4 separate regions of the Homo sapiens genome follow, and regions 1, 2 and 4 are each linked to region 3. Evidence: promoter capture Hi-C in 16 types of primary human blood cells and fetal thymus (Javierre and others, 2016). All regions are on one chromosome and are shown on one strand. Each heading gives the region's core, a stretch centred on a gene start or on the middle of the fragment in contact. The rest is flanking DNA. Distances are from core to core; before and after follow the strand shown. Region 1 holds the start of ZFAND5 (zinc finger AN1-type containing 5). Region 2 holds the start of SMC5 (structural maintenance of chromosomes 5). Region 3 holds the start of HNRNPK (heterogeneous nuclear ribonucleoprotein K). Region 4 holds the start of KLF9 (KLF transcription factor 9).

The links. The method cuts DNA at HindIII sites, captures the fragments that hold promoters and counts their contacts. A CHiCAGO score of 5 or more calls a contact.
Region 1: the fragment with the promoter of ZFAND5 here is called in contact with the fragment with the promoter of HNRNPK in region 3 in 1 of 17 cell types (fetal thymus); the score reaches 7.2 in fetal thymus.
Region 2: the fragment with the promoter of SMC5 here is called in contact with the fragment with the promoter of HNRNPK in region 3 in 1 of 17 cell types (fetal thymus); the score reaches 9.0 in fetal thymus.
Region 4: the fragment with the promoter of KLF9 here is called in contact with the fragment with the promoter of HNRNPK in region 3 in 1 of 17 cell types (total B cells); the score reaches 6.8 in total B cells.

Annotation. Positions count from the first base shown.
Region 1 is chr9:72,363,286-72,366,983 of GRCh38, reverse strand. ZFAND5 (zinc finger AN1-type containing 5) reads left to right here and starts at 1,776. Exons shown (of 7, transcript NM_001102420.3): 1 at 1,776-2,288; 2 at 3,378-3,514. RefSeq lists silencers at 1,538-1,917, 1,928-2,757 and enhancers at 1,365-2,069, 2,070-2,773. The HindIII fragment of the contact is 8,298 bases long and covers 1-3,698 here.
Region 2 is chr9:70,257,005-70,260,263 of GRCh38, reverse strand. It overlaps SMC5 (structural maintenance of chromosomes 5), which reads right to left and starts at 1,286. Exons shown (of 25, transcript NM_015110.4): 1 at 1,001-1,286. The coding sequence starts at 1,185. It overlaps SMC5-DT (SMC5 divergent transcript), which reads left to right and starts at 1,390. Exons shown (of 4, transcript NR_039990.1): 1 at 1,390-1,868; 2 at 2,329-2,349. RefSeq lists enhancers at 1,000-1,199, 1,530-1,719 and a silencer at 1,240-1,459. The HindIII fragment of the contact is 2,740 bases long and covers 1-2,583 here.
Region 3 is chr9:83,978,139-83,981,718 of GRCh38, reverse strand. HNRNPK (heterogeneous nuclear ribonucleoprotein K) reads left to right here and starts at 1,504. Exons shown (of 17, transcript NM_031263.4): 1 at 1,504-1,566; 2 at 3,267-3,346; 3 at 3,440-3,524. The coding sequence starts at 3,467. RMI1 (RecQ mediated genome instability 1) reads right to left here and starts at 914. Exons shown (of 3, transcript NM_001358291.2): 1 at 828-914. RefSeq lists silencers at 501-580, 1,391-1,530 and enhancers at 225-733, 791-880, 901-970, 1,101-1,160, 734-1,241 and 2 more. The HindIII fragment of the contact is 2,357 bases long and covers 201-2,557 here.
Region 4 is chr9:70,413,235-70,416,861 of GRCh38, reverse strand. It overlaps KLF9 (KLF transcription factor 9), which reads left to right and starts at 2,205. Exons shown (of 2, transcript NM_001206.4): 1 at 2,205-3,627. The coding sequence starts at 3,499. It overlaps KLF9-DT (KLF9 divergent transcript), which reads right to left and starts at 2,672. Exons shown (of 4, transcript XR_001746710.3): 1 at 2,452-2,672. RefSeq lists enhancers at 2,493-2,622, 2,963-3,042, 2,871-3,627, a promoter at 2,354-3,156 and a silencer at 3,333-3,512. The HindIII fragment of the contact is 11,812 bases long and covers 1-3,627 here.

The DNA.
Region 1 (3,698 bases), core at 527-3,026, about 12 Mb after region 3:
TTAGACTTTTTTTAAAGTATGCTTCTTCAGGAATTATCTTGTTTCACTCACTATAACTCCAATTCTAGAGAAAGAAAAAAATTCAAGTTAAAATTCAAGTTATTTTTGTTCTCAATAATAATCACCTCCATTGCCTCCCTGCCCTTCAGTGCCCTGGGCAAGCCTTTTTAGTCATTGTTTCTTTATCTGTAGAAAGGGACATGATAATAGTACCTATCTCAGTGAATTGCTGTGAGGATAAAATGAGACCCTAAATGGAAAATAGTTGGCACTGAAAATGGCCTGTAAATGGTAGCTGCTATTTTTTTTTTTTTTTTACTAATTCATCTGCTAATTTAAGGAAATAAATTGCAGTGGTCGTGGGACCAGTGACCCAAACTACTTAAATCTCTAATACATTAATTGATCACAGTAATAAACCCGAATTTGTTAAAAAACAAAACAAAAGGTTGTTATGCTCCAGGTACTTTGCTAACTGTGGCGGAGAACTGTTTGATTTGGCAGTGGTGGCTCAAGCTATCAGTATAGCATTCCCCCAAATACAGATTATAAATAAGGACCACCTGAAGCGCAATATGGGCCCCCCCCCACCCCCGCTCCCACCCCGGAACAACCAAAACCATATCCAGGGGAGATGCGTAGGAATCTTTAATCACCCCAGGTGATTTTTTTTCTGATTACCAACTTTGAGAAACACTGAAGGGACCTCTTCTCCATTCTATATGTGGCTAATATAAACCCTAAACATCATTTCTATGTATTCGTTAGACCGTTGTTTACTAGAAAATTTCAGAAGTCCTTTCCGACTTAGTAATTTTGTTATTTTGAGTTGAACTGAAATTCACTTGGAGCGGTCAGTTGAAAATGTTTTTTGTTTGTGCTCTGAAAAGGTTCCCAGTGTTCCGGGTAAAGTCATCCTTTCACCCATGGGGGACCTGTGCCTCGTGCCTGAACTGCCCGCCTAGTACCTCCCCCCTTGAACTTCCTCTCGCAAGCCTCCTCCTCCCGCTTCATCTGGGCCTCGGGTCTAGCTTGTTTTGTCCCTTCGCGGCTTTTGAGTAGAACATTTGGTGCTTTCCCAGTTCACGACGCTTTGCTGGAATCGTCAATTTCCAGGGATTTCACAGGCTGGCCAAAACAGTTTGTTCAGAACAGCGCCGCCGGGGCATTGGCAGCCCTGGGCGGCCGCGCGTTTCCTCACTCCGCACAACCACCCGTGACCTTGGGCGAGCGAACGCACGCCGCCAGCTGCGTCAGGGCCACGCTCGGGCTGGACTTCGGAGCTCAAAATGGGTGTGGGGAGTGAGGAGGTTTCATAAACAGAAAAGACCTCGAAGCCATAAGGCAATTCTTTTCCTTTTCTGGGGGTGAATCCTTACGATTCTTGGGGGAGGGAATGTCTGCCCAGGGCTGGAGACAAAGCGTGAGAACTAGGATGGCGAAAAACGGGTTTGAATGAGAAAATCCGAAGGAGGGAGGCTGAGGGCGGACAATTGGGTTAAAAATAGAAACGCATCCTCCACAGGACTCGCTCTTCCCAGCTCCACCCTAGGGGCCGACTGCCAGGCCAGTGGCTGGGCTCCGCGAGAAGGCACAGCAACCCGTCTCGGCCCCGCCTCCTGGACCTACTGACAGGGCACCGGGGGCGTGGCCTTGGGCCCGCGACGTCACCGCGCTCCCCGCCGCCGCCGCCGCCGCCGGGGTTTTCGCTGACGCACGGGTCCCGCCCCCTCCCCCTCTTTTCCCTCACAGCCCGGGCGCCGGGCGGCGAGTGCGTTAGTCGGCCGGGACGCGGAGCTGTGTGCATCTCCTACGCGGGCTCGCTCGCTCCCGGGAGCCGCGCAGCTTCCCCGGCGGTGGCAGGAGCGGCGAAGAGCGCCATCAGCGGGCCCTTACGGCCCCAGGCCTCGCGGCGCGCGGTCCGCTCGCCCTCCTCGTCCGCCCAACCTGCGGCCTGTGGAGGCGTGAGGCGACGACAGGCGAGCGCCTCGAGCAGCGTTAGCCGCTGCGGCCGCCGGTCCTCCCTCCACCTCCTCCTCGGCCCCCCCTCGCTTCCCTCCTCCCACTTCCCGAGCTCCGGCGTGTCCCGGCCACGCTCGACGCTGCTGCAGGAACAAAGGAAGACCCCGCGGCGGCGGCGGCGCCACCTCCGCCTGCTGCTCCGACCCGCTCCCGGCCCGCGGCGGCGGCACCAGGGCGCCCGGCTCAGCCTTCCCGGAGGCCTCGGCCCGGCCTCATCGTGCCGGCTTCGCGCGCGAACCCGGCTTTCGCATTTGGGACCCTGCAGGGTGAGTGATACGGGGCTGCGGGTGGGAGCCGGGCTCCTTGTTGCCGGGCCGGGGGCGGGAGTGAAGGGACCGGGGCGCCGCGGGCCAATGGCGAAGCCGGAGCAGGCCGCGGATGGCGGCGTCCGGGGGAGGGGAGCCCGCCCGCCAGCCCAGGAAGCACAAAGACGGAGGCGTCATCCTGTCGTCGTGGCCCGAGACCTGGCTCCCGGCGTCCCTGGCTCGCTCCACAGCACGGTCGGGAAACAATGCACGGCGTGCCGCCTCTGCGGGGCCGGCCTCTAGGCCGCTCGCCTCCGCGGCGGCGCCCGGCGTGGGCACCACGACCCAGAGAAACAAAGAGGCCGAGGCGGCGGCCGCGCCCCCTGCCCGTTGCAGCCCCCCCTAGCTCTCCCCTAAGAGGAGCCGTTCGGGGTCGGGGGTCGGGGGTCGGGGATCCGCGTGGGGCCTGCAGGCGAAGGGCTGGCCGGGCCTGCTGAGCTGCTGTTCTGCATGACTCAGTGGTTTTCGGAGAGGGCCCTGTTGGGCTTTATTGAGTGAGGCCTTTGCTTAGAGGGGGATGGGGTATCAGTGGGACCCGAACTTGTTCCAAAATCCATTGGAACATGGGGCCGGGGGTTCTCGGCGTCGTCTTTTGGGCTTCTCGACGTCGCTGCGTTTTTATCCTGAGATCCGTTTTCATGGAGGAAATGGAACACCTCCTTTGTTTGGTGCATTTAGGCTGATGAATGTGAAATTTTTTGCTCGCTTTCCACGCACTCCGTGGAGGTGTGTTTTCGGGGAAGGGTCGGATTATCTTTATTGATTGAGTGTCTCCTAAGGGATAGCATCTAAGGAGATACCAAGATAAAGGAACATATAGGTCACACATCCCCGTTCTTAAACCTGGGATTTAGATACAGACTTCTAAAAACATAAACGAATGTATTTTATTCCTTATTTTTAGGATTTTTTTTAAAGAGTAGGCTTTCAGAACTCAGTTGGTGAAAATACTGCAATTTTATCTTTGAAGTTTTTTGTTAAAATGTTTCCCCACACCCCCCTAAAAAATTAAGGATTCTTTGTAGTTGTCTCCTGTTTTCTATCTCCCAGGCCCTGAAAAGGAGCCTTTAAAAGTCAATTCTACTCCATTTGGCAAAGAGGGAACTGAAATCTGGAAAGTAAGGACTTGCCCAAGGTCACTGACTTAGTGGCAGACTAGAGACTTGAACTCAGGTCTCCATTCCCAGGTGAGTGGGAATTCATGCCATCTCATCACATCATGTGCACCTGAAAGAACTGTATTCCATAGGTGTAAAAGCTCTTTGTTCAGAATTGGAATTGGAGAATTGTTCAGTTACACTCGGGTGTTTTTTTAAGCTGTAAGTTAGAGGAAGCCATAAACTTTATAAAATCTGCATTCTAGCTATACCT
Region 2 (3,259 bases), core at 37-2,536, about 14 Mb after region 3:
GCGTGGTGGCGGCTGGCTGTAATCCCAGCTACGCGGGAGGCTGAGGCAGGAGAATTGATTGAAACTGGGAGGCGGAGGTTGCAGTGAGCCGAGATTGCGCCACTACCTTCCAGCCCGGACGACAGTATGACACTCCGTCTCAAAAACAAAAACTAGCCGGGCGTGGTGGCGCGCGCCTGTAGTCCCAGCTACTCGGGAGGCTGACCCAGAAGAATCGCTTGAAACCGAGAGGCGGAAGTTGCAGTGGGCCGAGATCGCGGCACAGCACTCCATCCAGCGTGGGCTACAGGAGCGCAACTCCGTCTCAAAAAAAAAGAGGAAAAAAAAAAAAAAAAAGACCTGGAACAAATGAACTGGAAGGTGCTAGGCAAATACATGATATATTTAAAACTTACTAAATTCTAAAGCGGTAACTAGTTGTCTGAAGGGGAGAGGGAGGAACCAGGGAAGAAAACTGGGTTTAGTGGGGTCAAGGGTTTGTAGGGAGGTCCAACAATTGCCAGTAAGTGTTTAATTTTTTTGTACCTGTAACCTCCATTCCCGAACAACCTTTACCGTCTTATCTACTCCTCTCTGGCAAATGCCTACCCTAAGAATCCGCCACAGCATCACTATCACGCCGAATTAACTGTTGCCTCCTCTTAAGTTCCCGGGGACAATACTTCTGTGAATTCCAGACCAGGGCCGCTATGGATCGCGACTCCCAGCGGGCAGAGACCTACTCCCTCCTACAACCACTACCTGCTACATGACACCTTTGGAAAACCTTGGCTGACTAAATTTAAAAACCACATCACCCAAGGCACACATCTCCTACATCATACACGTCAATCTCCACAGCCTACGTAGGAAAATCCTCAAGGGAACCCCGGCACGAATTCAAGGCCAGACCCACAAGCCAGGTACACACCCACACGCCCACGCCCGCGCGCTGCCGGAGCCCCGGGGCCTGCTGGCCAGCACACCTCCACACCCGCGGCGCGGCCTCCGGGCAACTTACAGGAAGTTCTCCATCGAGATGCGGACGATAGAGCCTTCCACGAAAGGCCCGGACGACTGCAACAGCGGCAGCTGCGGGGCCGAATTCTTCCTCTTGCTCGGGACCTCCGACGAAGGGTCTCTCGGGAGAGCTCTCTTGGAAGGCTGGGGGCTTGGAGTTGACGTCTTCTTGCTCGGAGTCGCCATCCTGGCTTCCTCAGCGTCCCACAGCGACTTCCGTTCCCACCGTCCGGCAGCCCAGGCGCCCAAGCGCCCATCCACCCAGGCGCCCCGCTCCCGCGCGAACTGCCGCGAACTGTTACCGCGCGCTCGCTCCCGCGATCTCGCGCCGCGCCTGCGCAGTTCAGGTCCGGCGACGTCAGCAGGCCCGCCCCGCCCCTCCCGCGCTCCGCCGCGCTGTGCGAGGCCCAGACTGAGGGCGAAACAGCAGGCAGGACTGGGTGGAGACGTTCGGGGACGTGGCAACTGGAGTTTCTTCTCCGTATATTTCGGCATTCAGTTCCTTTTTTTTTTTGTTTTAACTCAGGAAAAAATCTCAATTGCGTTTAGTATTTTGAAAGCCACTTTATTGCTTCCCGAGCCTCAGTCATGTGTGGTGGGAGGCTGCTGTGGGTGGCACCTGGGGCGTCCACGGCCGCCAAGGCGGGAGGACGTCAGGCCCTGCTTGCTCCCACCCCTTCCAGGTGAGAGCTCCCGGGCACGCCCGTCGTTGGCTCTTCGTCCTCTTGGTGTTCTTCCCTGTTGCTTCAAATCAGGTTCCTGTCTCAAAAATCCGAAAAAGAAATCCTCCCAAATGACTCTGTGCCCGACGCTCCGTTAAGGCATCGTGCTAGGCGTTCTCAAACTCGTGAAATGACTACACTGCACAGGTTAACCTCATTGCTACTCTTCCCCTTGCCTCCTAATTCTCTGGTTAAACTTCCGCCCCCGAGGTTTCTAGAAATCCCTGAGCTGGAATGCGCTGCCTTCATTAAGAGGGTGTTCTGCTTCCGTCTGCTCACATTCATCTAGTAAGCCCTCTCGTTAAAGAGGAGGCAGCACACCGAGGCCTGTCTAGAACTTCTTTCATTTAACCAACAGTGAATATCTAATCTACAAGAAACTGGAGCCGTGGCAGTTTAGGAGCCTGCCAAGGTTGCATCCCTGGGAGCTTATTTTCTATTGTGGGAGACAGGAAAAGAACAAGTGAATCAACTGTGAAATTAAATAATTCAAACTTAAAGCTGTTGGAACTTTAAATTATTCTGAGCCTTGCGAAGAATGTGGCGATGGGGCCTGAGTCCCATGGCATACAGCTGCAATGTCTGCCTTGTTTTTTCCTATAATCAGGAAGACCAAACAGAGACAGAGGTAAGACCCCCTCAGATCACTACCCCCTTCATAAATTAATATAGTTATCTTCCTTGGAATGTAGCTATCTATAACTAATCTAATCGCTGTAATTTATGCACTGCTCTTGTATTGAAAATGTACTCCTGCTGAACCTTCTCTGTTTCTGCCTGTGTAAATGAAACCTTAACTTCACTTTGGAACATTGACCCTATTTGTTTGGAGTTGGTGTTTCCAGGTGGCTGTCCTCAAGCTTTGCGTTAGAATAAACTCTATACTTAATGATATTTTCTGAATTTCACTACTTAAGGCTGACACAACAAATGATTAGCATAATGTCAGACTGTGACAGGTGTTAGGAAGAAAACAAAATGAACCTGATGGGTGGGAGGTACGGAAGGCCTCTTAGAGAGGTGGTGGTGTTTAAGATAAACTCTGAAGGACGAGAAGAAACTGTGACGATCTGAGAAAAGAGCACCCCAGGCAAAAGAATTTTGCTGGAACATACCAGTAAGGACAAAAGCTCTGAGGTGGGAAGGCCAGTGTTGCTGCAGAGCAGTGAACAAGGTTGCAGAGCAGAACCTTGTCCATCGTGGAAAAGCCTGAATTTTATTTTTAAAGCAATGGGAAGCCATTGCAAAGTTTTAAGCAGGAGAGGGCCATGTTCTGACTAAAGCTTTTAATTTTTTTATTTGATTTTTTTTATTTGATTTTTTTGAGACAGAGTCTCACCCAGTCGCCCAGGCTGGAGTGCAGTAGTGCCACCTCAGTTCACTGCAAACTCTGCCTCCCTCGTTCAAGCGGTTCTTCTGCCTCAGCCTCCCGAGTAGCTGGGATTACAGGTGCATGCCACCACACCTGGCTAATTTTTGTATTTTTAGTAGAGACGAGGTTTCACCATTTTGGCCAGGCTGGTCTGTAACTCCTGACC
Region 3 (3,580 bases), core at 255-2,754:
TTCGGCCAATGGTGGATTTCGCTTTATGTGCAGATTATGACACCTTTATGCTTCAAAATGAGTTTGGGATTGTGGGCGGAGGCTGGAAGGTTGACGAGTAAGGATGTGGAAAGCGGGTACTACCAGGGCTGGAGATTTCCCAGGGCTGTCACCGATTGAAAGTGACCTTATGTGCCTTAACAAAGGAAGTCATGAAAGCTTGGCACAGGAGCCTTAAAAGTAAGGAACCGAATACAATGCAAGTGTGCGCTGAACCCGCTAGAACAGGAGCACGTTTGAGGGCAAGGGTTTTTGTCTGTTTTCATCACTGCCACAAGGCAGGCGCTTTGAATGGAACGTGGAGGTCTGCAACGTATTCAGCGATACGCATTCATTTTAGGAGACAAGGGCAATACATATTGCCTAAAAATTTTATCGGAATAAACTACAGCGACGACACTACAAAATACTTCCATCTCAGGTCCCATTACCCAAGAGGAAAGTCTCAGAACCGAGAGCCCTGTGAAACCGCCTGTGCCCTCTCGGCGAGAAGTTCTCCAGTACTCCCAGGCTCGCCCCGCGTTTCCCCGGCTCCCGCCCCGGCGCAAGGCAGGCCGAGAACCGCCAGCTGCGCCCCCGGGCCCGGCCTTGACTGACGGGCGCCCCGGACCATTACAAACAACGGGTTTCCGAAGCGTGGGCCCGGCCCAGCGGACGCAGACGGCCCGCACTTACCGCGCCGCAGCTCGTCCCACAGCCCACAGACCACAGCCCGGGGCGGGGTAAGGGGCTTCGGGCACGAGTGTGGGCTGTGAAAACACGGGCATAAGTCTGGGCCGAGCACCGACCTGGGCGTCCCGCATTTTCCTCGCGCAACATCGGTCCCTGGGCAGCGCAACTGTAAGGACAGGAACCGCCGCGGCGCGCTCCCAGTTCCTTTTTTACCTCTTCCCGCCCGATTTGCCGCGCGCTCGCGCCCCTCCTCCAACCCCAAAGGACTCCTTCGGGGCTGGAAAACGCCCCTTCCCCGCCCCCTCCCTGTGCGCGTGAACTAGGCAGTTGTTAGATCTCGCGAGAGGTTCGCCCCCTAGCCGCCCCTCCCCCCAGCTAGTGAGTGCGCGAACGAGAAAGGAGGAGGGCGCTCCAGGCGACAGCACTGCAGACGCCATTATCCTCTGTTTCTCTGCTGCACCGACCTCGACGTCTTGCCTGTGTCCCACTTGTTCGCGGCCTATAGGTAATTGGAGTTATTGGAGCTTGGGTATTGCTGATTCGGGTAAGGGTTGGGGCTCCCTGAAAGGCTGCGTTTACTTTTCCCAAGCCCGGGTTTTCTCGAGCCCTTAGTGGCCTCCCAGCCCGAAGGGAGGCGCTGGCGGGAGGCGGGGTTGTCGCCTCCTCCGTCGCCTTGATTGACGTGGCCTCGGGCCAATCGCTTCGCCCTCGCACCATCGCTGAAGCCCTGGCAGCCAATAGGGCGCGACGGCGGGGAGGACGCGAGAAGGCGGGGGAGGGGAGCCTGCGCTCGTTTTCTGTCTAGCTCCGACCGGCTGAGGCGGCGCGGCAGCGGAGGGACGGCAGTCTCGCGCGGTGAGGAGCCGGGTTGGGGGAGCGGCTCGTGGAGGTGAGGGTCGGAGCCCAGTTTTTCCGCTTGAGGGAGGCGTCCTGGGAGCCGCTTTGGTGTTTGGCCGCTTCTCCGAGTGGGAACGTTGCCCGGTGTCCCCTCCCCCACCTCCGCCATTTCCCTGAGCGTGTATCCGCAGTCCGCGTTGTGGTCCTAGAGACTTGGGGATTCGTGAGGCATGTGCCTCTAGGATGAGCTGGAGCTATGTGGCACTGGGAACTAGGGACCTCGTGGAGGAAAGGAGGCCGGTGCGGGGAGAAGGTCGCGCCGCCGCTCTCTTTGTGTGAGCCCCGCCTCACCTTGGGTCTCCCGGCCCGGGGTCGGAGCTGGAGCGGCGGGGATGGAACGGTCAGGGCTGCCTCGATGGCTTTGTCTCGGGCAGTGGGGGGAGGATGCGGGGGATGAGACCTCGGGACCGCGTGGTGGGTGGGGGAGGGGGTCGGCGCTCGGCTCCGCCTAGTAGCACGTAGTCGCCATTACGCGGGCCGCCATTTCCTGTCGGATCCGGGTGAGGAGAGGTGCGGTGCTTCTGCTGTCGACTTTCGCTTTTTCCCGTCCTGTTACCCGGCTGTTTTTGATCTCGGTGCCGGGAGGCGGGGAGGGGAGGGCGCGTTGGCGCTCGGCCAGTGGAGCACATACTTAGCGGATTTTTGAGGCCTGGGGACTAGTGACTGCAGGACCCGAAGGGTGAACGGCAAGCGGCAACGTTATTCTTACAGATAAGCCCTGCTGTTTTTGCTTAAACTTTCTTATCCAACTCTTCTCCCACCACACCTCAGAAATTGCGTGCTGGGCCGGAAGGATGTCGTTTCAGTTGTCGTTAGGAGAGCAATAAGTCGACCAACGGTATGGGAGAATGGGAGGCATAAATGTGCCTCGCTTGTTGGCTCTTTGCTGTCTAGCCAACCTTCTAGTAGAGGCCGCTTGTCAACTCCTAGTCCCGACAAGAGGGAAGCTTAAAAAGGCTGTTTGTAGTCCTATCGACCGTTTTGGCACGTAGACACTTTAGTTTTCGTGTTACAGGCATGATTGTTGTGTTGTACTCCCTTAAGCCTAATTTAAAATAATCCGCTAGTGACTGTTAGTTTTCAAGGGCTCCATTTGTTTCGCTGATTAATAATAGACTGGTATTGTGGTAGTTTGGGTCTGGTCCTATATTAGATTTTTGGATTTATCCCTCCGGTAGATTGTTCTGGTTGTTGGATGTGTTCGCAATTGCCGTTGTATTTGTAAACTTTAGAGATGTCACATAAGATCGCTTCAAGCATGAGTCGAAAGAAATAGGAAAGCAATTGGAAGTTTTAATATAAAATTAGTTTTCCCAGTGAATAAGATGCATTGTAACTTTTCATAAATGTATGCTTTGTGGATGACATTTATCTTTTCAGGGTTTTGGGAATGTGCCGTATAAAACAATTCATTGCTGTGGTGGGACTTAATCCAGTGGCTAAAAGTTATTGTTCTAACTTAGCAAAAAATGAAACCAGGCTCCCTTGAATTTTGTATTTTTTAGGCAGTCATTTGAATTGTGAAACCCTAAAATGAAGAATCAAGTTTTAGAAACAGCTGGTTTTTTGGGTTCAAATCAGTATTCACTGTGATCGGAAACAAATATTCAGTAATAAGAATAAACAAAAGCAAAACTGATTTGTGTTGGTTCTTATAGGCTACTGCAGCACTGGGGTGTCAGTTGTTGGTCCGACCCAGAACGCTTCAGTTCTGCTCTGCAAGGATATATAATAACTGGTACGTTCTAGAAGCAATGTCTTTTTTTTTTTTTTTTTTTTACAGCTTGCTTTCCAATAAGCCAAATGTACTAGCTGCTTTATTTTTCCACAGATTGGTGTGCCCGTTTAATAAAAGAATATGGAAACTGAACAGCCAGAAGAAACCTTCCCTAACACTGAAACCAATGGTGAATTTGGTGAGAAGAAATTTTAGTTTTAACAGTATTTTTTTATCCTGTTAATAAATTGCCTT
Region 4 (3,627 bases), core at 956-3,455, about 14 Mb after region 3:
AACATAAATATCTGGAGAATGAATGAGTGGAAAAGGAGAAAAAAGAGAAAGCATTCTACAGTTCTAGAATTGCTGGGTTTAAAAAGATATTCTAAATCAAGTCAAGCAGCAGTTATGTTTGTAAATGTGTGAGAAATTCATGTAGATGAAATCTCAGTTTTCTTTCATTACTTTCTTTTGTAACTCTGAAATGAGTGAGTTTGGAGAATTCAGTGTTTATGTCCAGTTCAAACAAAGTGAAATTAAAGGGAATTAAAGAAAAGCTGGCAAGGAGTAAGGAAGGGAAAAGTTTATATTTTTAAAAAACCTAAAGTGACTGATGTATTCAAATTCCTGGATTATATAATCTTCAAGGAAAGATACAGACTTTTCCTCTATTCTGGAATAATGATGATGGTGGTCCTAGGGCTGTCTATAGATGTCCAGGCCCGAGCAGTCTGTTTCACCAGTACAATCCCAGTTAAAATGCAAGTCTGAGGGGTTGTACAGGCCATGATCATAGAGATCCTGGAGAGATCCCGCTGGTATATGCACTGGGCCTTGAGGCAGGCAAAGGTGCAATTTCTAAGTGATCGTGTATCCTAGGGGACAAAATTTGTCCCAGAAAAATCATGAAGTAGGCAAACTCCCCTGGGCTTCAGTGAATTCTTTTCTAAAATTAAGAGATTAAGTTCTAAAAATGCAAGAACTCCAAGATGGCTTGGAGTTTTTTATACACTGTATACCTACCTTACAGGGATGCATGCAGGGTGCTTGGTACAGGGCCTGACACAGAGTAAGCCCTCCATGAAAGGGGTCGGTGATAATGATGCTGATGGTGATGATATTCTTGGTTGCCCAGTATCCCCTATCTACACCTTTCTTCCACCTGCAGTCACCTACTGCAATATCTTCCCTGTACCACTTTAATATTTTTGTTGTTGTTTTCTTTATTTTTTTAAGCTGTACACTTTTATTGAACTGGTCTTGTCAGGTTTGTTATTTTTTAATTAAAATCTATTATACTCTTACTTACCTGAGCCACCCTTAGTTATGATTTAAAAAAAAACAAAAAAAACAGGGCCTTGCTCTGTTGCCCAGGCTGGAGTAGTACAGTGGTGTAATCAGGGCTCACTGCAGCCTTGACCTAGGCTGACGCAGTCCTTCAGCCTCAGCCTCCTGAGTAGCTGGGACTACAGGTGCGAGCCACCACGCCTGGCTAACTTTTTTTTTATTATTATTATTTTTGATGTACCACTTTAAAAACAAAGTCAAAAGAAACTACTGTAGATCTCACATTGGTAGAGTCAATTTGAGACCCTTGCCTCGGAGACCAGAACCTGGTGTAACTTTCTCTTAACAAAGGTTAATAGCCAGTGGGGGGTCAGGGTTGGAACTCACCGAATCTGCATCACATAGAATCAGGTACCTCTCACATTCACGAAAGTGAATTATTTTTAATGAATTGTGCTGACAGTATGCCTCTTGCAAAAAGAACTAGCCCTAGATTCTTTTCTAGCTATCAAGATGGAAAACAACCACATCGTTAATTCAGACGGAGGGGTAAACCAAGTTAATCAGACTCCAAGACCCATACTAATTGTTGACCAAGTAATGCCACAGTATTCCATGGCTAAGGATTTCCAGCTTGTTCCAGTCCCTAAAAATCTGTTCTGCACAGTTAATATTTCACAAAACCAAAAGGGCTTAGTTGCAAGCACAAAGAGCTAGAAATCAGGAGACTTGTGGTTTCTATTGAGTTCTATCATTATCTGTCTAATAAGATAAATAAGTCACTTCTCTGTAACTCAGTTTCCACATTTGTGAAGTGAGGGAAGAGAAACATGTCCTAAAAACCATGCAGGGGCTCTGGAAAGAAAAAGAGCTAAGAATGGTGGGTTTTTTATAAAAGTTACACAAATGAATGGTTTTTGTCTCCGTTTTTCTGAAAGTGGGTTAAAAATAGCCTCCAAATAAAGCTAAAAGAATTTATTTAGACTAAATTGCACCAGAGAAGTAGAGGAATTAAGAGATATGACAAGCAAAGATGGGATGTTTCAATGGAAGAATCTCAGGCAGTAAAAAGGCTATGCTGTAAAACCAGAACTTTTGTTAGCACTGCATTTTTAAGATGAATTGGTCATAGTTAATGTATTGGATGGAAGAATTTTTAAACATCTGCCCCAAAGTATGCTGCATCCAAAAAATATATAACAAAACGAATTCTTACTCATTTGTGTTTATTCTTGGACTTATCCTGACATAATGGGGTTTTTTTAATTATAGATTCACACTGCATTTATTCATCACCCCTGTCCTCTCATCCATAACTCAAATTTACTACCAGCAACACAAAATACAAAGATGTGTCCAGTTTCACTACAGCTCTTCGCGTTTACAAGTGTCGAGCGCTTGCTTTCGGAACGCCCTTGTGATTGGCCGAGCCAATGCCAGTGACATCAACCAACTTACTTTTGATTGGAAGGCTGGTTGCTGGGACTGTAGCGTTTGCAGGAAGTCACTTAACTGTTTGGGAGCTGGAAAACCGAAGCTGAAGTTCTCTTTTGCCATAGGAACGAGCGCAACTGACTAGGAAAGATGTGTCCCAAAGCTCCGCAAGCTGGAACGTGAGCCAGGAGGCCCGGACCGGCCACGGGACCGCGAGGCACTCCGAAAGTGTGCGGCTGCCCCTTCCCTGCCTCCCAGCTGTTACCCTTTTAAATGTCAGTGTTCGAGGCTGTAGGGGTAGCACGAGGCAGCGAAACGGAACAGTCGGATTGGCCGCACGCCTCAGTTCTAGACGCACCTCTCCACCGAAGGCCGTTCTGACTGGCAGGGGGAGAAAGTAAACAGAGTTGAATCACCCTCCCCACTGGCCAATTGGAGGGGGTTTGGTTTGTGACGTGATGGGATTCTGCGAAATTGTTACTGAGCAAGAGAATGCCGGAACGGTGCGGACCGGCCGGAGCAGGGGTTCAGAAGCCGTCAGTGGACTCGGGAAAAAGTGTCTCTTAGACCTGGCGCTCGGCGGGACCCTCGCCACCCGCGTCGGGGTGATCGGGTGAATGTCCTGGGGCTTTGGCTCGACGGCGAGGCGGCCGAGGGCGTGCACCTCTCTTGCAGTTTCCTCTCCCAGCGCCTCGGGGGCGTTTTCAGTCGAATAAACTTGCGACCGCCACGTGTGGCATCTTTCCAAGGGAGCCGGCTCAGAGGGGCCGGCGCGCCCGTCGGGGGATCGCGGCCGGCGCGGGGCAGGGGCGGCGGCTAGAGGCGGCGGCGCGGCGGAGCCCGGGGCCGTGGATGCTGCGTGCGGAGGCGCTGCCGGTTACGTAAAGATGAGGGGCTGAGGTCGCCTCGGCGCTCCTGCGAGTCGGAAGCGCCCCGCGCCCCCGCCCCCTTGGCCGCCGCGCCGTGCCGCGCCGCGCCGCGCTCGTCGTCCGAGGCCAGGGCAGGGCGAGCCGAACCTCCGCAGCCACCGCCAAGTTTGTCCGCGCCGCCTGGGCTGCCGTCGCCCGCACCATGTCCGCGGCCGCCTACATGGACTTCGTGGCTGCCCAGTGTCTGGTTTCCATTTCGAACCGCGCTGCGGTGCCGGAGCATGGGGTCGCTCCGGACGCCGAGCGGCTGCGACTACCTGAGCGCGAGGTG